2 separate regions of the Homo sapiens genome follow, and region 2 is linked to region 1. The links are contacts of gene promoters, found by promoter capture Hi-C in blood cells and fetal thymus (Javierre and others, 2016). All regions are on one chromosome and are shown on one strand. The core of a region is centred on a gene start or on the middle of the fragment in contact, and the rest is flanking DNA. Distances in the headings are between cores, read along the strand shown.

The links. The method cuts DNA at HindIII sites, captures the fragments that hold promoters and counts their contacts. A CHiCAGO score of 5 or more calls a contact.
Region 2: a fragment that was not itself captured here is called in contact with the fragment with the promoter of CDKN2AIPNL in region 1 in 5 of 17 cell types (endothelial precursors, naive CD4 T cells, megakaryocytes and 2 more); the score reaches 7.2 in endothelial precursors.

The regions. Positions count from the first base shown.
Region 1 is chr5:134,410,434-134,413,314 of GRCh38, reverse strand. It overlaps CDKN2AIPNL (CDKN2A interacting protein N-terminal like), which reads left to right and starts at 1,434. Exons shown (of 3, transcript NM_080656.3): 1 at 1,434-1,699. The coding sequence starts at 1,461. RefSeq lists enhancers at 566-1,303, 1,291-1,780, 1,304-2,042. The HindIII fragment of the contact is 16,822 bases long and covers 1-2,117 here.
Region 2 is chr5:134,519,348-134,522,228 of GRCh38, reverse strand. No RefSeq gene overlaps it. Among named protein-coding and RNA genes, the nearest start is that of JADE2, 4.9 kb to the left of the region's middle. The HindIII fragment of the contact is 467 bases long and covers 1,293-1,759 here.

The DNA of each region.
Region 1 (2,881 bases), core at 185-2,684:
TTCTGGACTAAATTTAGGCAGATAAGGGAACAACTTCATCTTGTGCTTTGGGAGGAACAAAGAATTGACAGACAGGAGTGTGTGTTGGTGGCGGAGGTCACAGAGACCTTGAGGCTTCTTCATCAGTTCAGCATGTCAAAATACATTTTGGGGTGTTGGTTTCTGAGCCCCAACACCCAGTTACTGTAGTTGAATGCTTCCAGGGATGGAAAATTCACCACTTAAAAGGAAGCTCTTTTTTCTCTCAGTGTGTCTGCTACCTGAGACTCGAACAGACAGCAGAGTCATGCCAGCTAAATAAAAACTTTCAGGTCCAGCCAGTTACGATGGCTCATACCTGTAATCCCAGCATTTTGGGAGGCTGAGGGAGACGGATCACTTGAGCTCAGGAGTTCGAGACCAGCCTGGGCAACATGGCGAAACCCTGTCTCTATTTAAAACCAAGTCCAAACTTGCTCATTTCCTCTGGACACATTGTTTCTGGCTCCTTCCAGCATCTTTTGTAAACACAGGTGTCACTGTTCTGGTTAAAATCCTTCAGCGGCTCCCCATTCTTGGGATCTAGCCAGGATCCCTGCCTGGCCTACTGGCCTTGCTGACCTCTGCAACTTCATCTTCTCCATTCTCTACCTGCCCTGCCCCGCCCCCCAACCCCTCCTACCCCCTATCTTGCAATTCTCTTACCAGGCCATGCTCTCTCTTGCTTTGACCGACTCCCCTTTACTCAGAAAACTGCTCATTCTTCACTTCTCCAGGATCACTTCCCTGACCCCAAGACTAGATTGGGTCCCTTGCTTATTCATGGTTGTAGCACGCTGAACTTCTCTTTACTAATACTTGTCAACGCTGAAATTCTCCATTTACTTGAGCAATTATGTCACTAATGTCCACTCCTCCACTCCATGGTAAAGTTCAGGCGAGCAGGGCTCCGAATGTGCTCTCATTGCCTCTCCAGCACCTAGCAATGTGCCTGGCAAGTATTCACGGGATGGATGGATTACTCGCTCCAGGAAGGCGGGCCCCAACCTTCGTGGCTGTGGAGACCCCTGGAAGTCGACCGTGACCCGGGCCCCCTGATGTCGCTCAGGATGAGGCGGTGCCCGGGAAACTCTCAGGGCAAGGGCACAGCATAGCTCTGGCTGGCATCCAGCTGCCAACTGGAAGAGGGCGCTCCGAATCTGTGTTTAGGGACCTCAGTTTTCCCACCGGTTCCCCGCAGGGTCGACCGCAAAAGACCCTTGTAGCCCTGGGTAGACCCAGGGCAGGAGCCACGGGCTGCGGCGGTCTGAGGAGCCAGGAGCCGCTCTGTGCCCCCGCAGGCCGCCGCTCCGGGCGAGGGCGCTCCAGGTTGGTCTTCTGGAGCAGTCGTGCGCTGATGGGGCCCCTCTGGCCGGCAGGCGGTGGCGCAGTGCGCGTCGGGAAGGCGGCGGGCTATCCGGTCCTCGGCTGCGGCGGGCACCATGGTCGGTGGCGAGGCGGCTGCCGCAGTGGAGGAGCTGGTTTCGGGGGTGCGGCAGGCGGCCGACTTCGCGGAGCAGTTCCGCTCCTACTCAGAGAGCGAGAAGCAATGGAAGGCCCGCATGGAATTCATCCTGCGCCACCTGCCCGACTACCGCGACCCGCCCGACGGCAGTGGCCGCCTGGACCAGCTGCTCTCCCTCTCCATGGTCTGGGCCAACCATCTCTTCCTAGGCTGCAGGTGCGGACCCCTGCCGGCCGGCTGATCCTGTCCCCTATCTTCCGACCCTCAAGGCCTCTCCCAGGGCTCACCCCTGACCCGAACCTCTGCCCCAGACTGAACCCGGGCCCAACCTCCATCCGCATTGGTCGGCCCGAAGACTGATTCCCACCCTGGAGGCCCCTTGGAAAGATCCTTATCTTTGAGCCTCAGTTTTCTCTTCTGGTAAAAGGGTGGTTATGATGGCTGTAATAATTAAAGGGTGAAGAGCTAAATACATGGCGGGTTCAAAGGTTGCTATTGTTATTTGTATTACTATTATTATTAGCTCAAACCATCACCTTTGCAGTATGCATTCGAAGTCCGTTAGCCCCTGTCACCTACATGGCAAACGTGCAGAGAGAGAAACGGAGATCCCCATTTTACAGATGAAAAAGCTTAGGGAGAGAAGTGATATACCTGGGGCCATGCAGCTTCTGGCAGGATTGATGGATTTTAATCACTAATGAGAGGATGTAATCTGTATCCTATGGCTTTTTCTCCTCACTCCACAGCCCACGGGGTCCTAAGTAGGAACCAGCTTCACCTCTCTGCTTTCCCTCTTATGAAAATGGCCGATGCCTTTTTGTGAAGGTCTCAAAGCCCACTTCATCCTGGCTGCAGCACCAAAAGGACAAAGGCCCGCTTTTGAAGTGCCTGATAAGGCATTCCTTTCACCCCTCCATGAGGAAGGTGGCAAATCTTGAGACTCCCTATTAGAGAGCTTCGATTTTCCTGAAATTGTGTTAGGAAAATAGGGTGACTTGGTTTGATCTTGGTTTCTATACCTATTATGGCTGCCTGACTCTGGTCATTTGGCCCCTGCAGGCCTAAGCCACTTGGTTTTGCTTCACATATTGGGGTTTATTAGAACAGTACGTAGGGAAGCAATGCCAGAGGCACCCGTCCCTTTTCCCTGCCTTCTAGGTGCTCCTGGGAAATCCTGGTTTTCCATGGTTAGGCAAATGTCAGAGAATTGGGGAAATAAATAATGTTTTTGTTAGACTAACATTCCATGTATTTAAAAAATAAAAATATTTTGGTCCTCATCCTGTATCTGAGAATATCTGTTGCTGGATGTACAGTGCCTCTGTTCTTCTAAATCTTGAAACATCTGCTGTACTGGTATTTCTGAAGTCCACTTCTGTATCTACAAGCAAGAAG
Region 2 (2,881 bases), core at 277-2,776, 110 kb before region 1:
AAGGTAAAAATGTTAGCTGCTAGAGTGAGCAGGTTATTAAAATTGGACATGATTTTATTCTAAACTCTAAAATATAAAAATAACTATATGTTTGAAAGTGATTAAGTGCTGTGGAGAAACTCTTAAGAAGGAAAGGGCGATACACAGTGTGGGAGTGCAATTTTAAATAAAATAGGGAAGTTCTCACCGAGAAGACAGTCTTTGAGAAGAGCAGGTAAAGGAGTGAACTGTATGTGGGAGTATGTGTGTATGTACATGGGGGAAGAGAAGCCAGCCGTTCTTAACCTGGAGACCATAGACTCTCCTCTCCATGGGTCTGTGGATAGAATTCAGAGGATCTTGACCTTAGGTGAGAAAAAAATTACAACTTTATTTTCACTAATTAAAATGTAGCGTGTCCTTCAATTATGAATACAGATAACAAATCAGTGATATTAGCAGCACCTGTGACATTACTGCTGGTAGAAATCACAGATATTTTCATATCACTTTAGAGTTGTTGCAAATATCTTAAAATATCGTTACACTTTATGAGTAATTTATTGAAAAAGTATCATTTTACTCATCACTACTTCAAAATCATGCTGCTAACTCTTATAATTTAATGAATTAATAGAGAAGCACATATATATGTTTAAATATTTCGAGAGTTGTATTTCAGTACAATTTGTTTTCTTAATGATTTGTGGAACTTATTTTATGGATTTAAAGATACTATACTCAGAAGGAGTCCACAGGTGTCACAGACTGCCAAAACAGTCCATGGCACATGCACAAAAAAGGTTAAGAACCAAGGTCTCAAGAGACCAGCAAGTGCAATGCCTCCGAGGCAGGAATATGCTTAATATGTAAATGAAAGAGATTATATAGGGCCTTTTAGGTCATTGTTAGGAATTTGGCATTTGCTAGAGTGATATGGAGAGTTTTGAGCAGAGGACTGAGATGATCTGACCCTGGGTTTAACAGGTCTCTTGGCTGTTACATGGAGAACAGATTTAAGAGGCAAAGCTGAAGCAGGAAGGCCAGTTGGGAGACCACCTGAATAAACCAGGTGAGAGATGATTGGACCAGAGCGGTAGCAATGGAAGTGGTGGAAAGCGGTCATCTACATTTTGAAGGTAGCTCTGACAGAATTTGCTGATGGAGTGAGAGAAAAAGAAAGAAGTCAAGGACAACGATAAGTGTTTTACCTTGAACCAATGGAAAGATGGAGTTGTCCTTAACTGAGATGGAGGAAACTGGAAGGAGTAGGTTTTAGGGGATTAGGAGCTCAGTGTTGGACATATGAAGCTTGAGATGCCTATTTGACATCCAAGTGCAGCCATTGACAGGCAGCTAGACATGATAGCCTCAGCTCAGGGGCAAGGTCTGGGCTGAAGATGTCATTGGAGAGTGGTCAGTGAGCAGATGGATGGTATTTAAATTTGAGATCATCAACTAAGTGAACATAGAAAGAGAAGGGGCTCAAGGATGGTACCCTTCAGCACTGCAAGGTAAAGATGTCTGAAAGATGAAGAGGAATCAGCAAAAGTGTTGTTAGTGTTGTTTAAAGAAAAAAAAAAGCATTCAAAGAGATAGGAATATCCTGGAAGCCAAAGGAAGTGAGAGAGAGTTGCAGGAGGGAAGAAAGCCCTATGTCCAAAGCTGTGGAGGGGTCAGACAAGCTGGAGGCTGAGAATTGATCATTGGAATCATCAACATGGAGGTTACTGGTGACCTTGACAAGAGCCATGTCAATGGAATAATGCTAGCAAAAGCTTGATTGAAATAGTTCAAGATAGAGAGGGAAGGTTTCTAGTTGTCACAACTTGTTCTCAGATGCTACCTGAAAATGAGATGTCCTCTGTATATATTTATCTGTGAATGTTTATAGAGATGGATAACTACGTATCTGTAGAAATTTAATTCAAACAGCTTCTGTTGAGGATCTTCTGTGTACTAGGCATGGTAATGGATGCTACAAATACTGAGAGAAATAAAACACATTAATTGCCTTCCAAGGGTCACAGTCTAGCAAACTTTGTTGGCACACGAAATACACACAAATCAATATACATGACTAAATACACACAGTCACTCTGGACATCAGTTTTTCTAGTGTAATAGACAATATGATTAAAACTGTGGATTCCAGAATCAGGCAATCCTTTGTTTGAGTCCTGTCTCCACCATTCTCCAGCTCTGTTACTTTGCACAAGTCAATCAACTTCTCTGTGCCTCAGTCTCCTCCTCTGTAAACTAGGGATGCAATCATTTCCAAACTTTAGTGTGGATGGGGTGCATGGGATGCATGTTAAAAATGCAGATTTTTTTTTTTTTTTTTTTTTTTTTTTTGAGACAGACTCTTGCTCTGTCGCCCAGGCTGGAACGCAGTGGCACGATCTGGGCTCACTGCAACCTCCGCCTCCCAGGTTCAAGCGATTCTCCTGCCTCAGCCTCCCAAGTTGCTGGTATTACAGGTACACATCACCATGCCCAGCTAATTTTTGTATTTTTAGTAGAGACAGGGTTTCTCCATGTTGGCCAGGCTGGTCTCGAACTCCCGACCTCAGGTGATCCACCCGTCTCGGCCTCCCAAAGTGCTGGGATTACAGGCGTAAGCCACTGCACCTGGCCCCAGCCTTTTTTTTGAGATGGAGTCTCACTCTTGTCGCCCACGCTGGAGTGCAGTGGCACCATCTTGGCTCACTGCAACCTCTGCCTCCAGGGTTCAAGTGATTCTCCCGCCTCAGCCTCCTAAATAGCTGGGATTATAGGTGCCACCATCATACCCAAGTACTTTTTGTATTTTTAGTAGAGATGGGGTTTCACCATGTTGGCCAGGTCTCGAACTCCTGACCTCAAATTATCCGCCCGTCTTGGCTTCCCAAAGTGCTGGGAT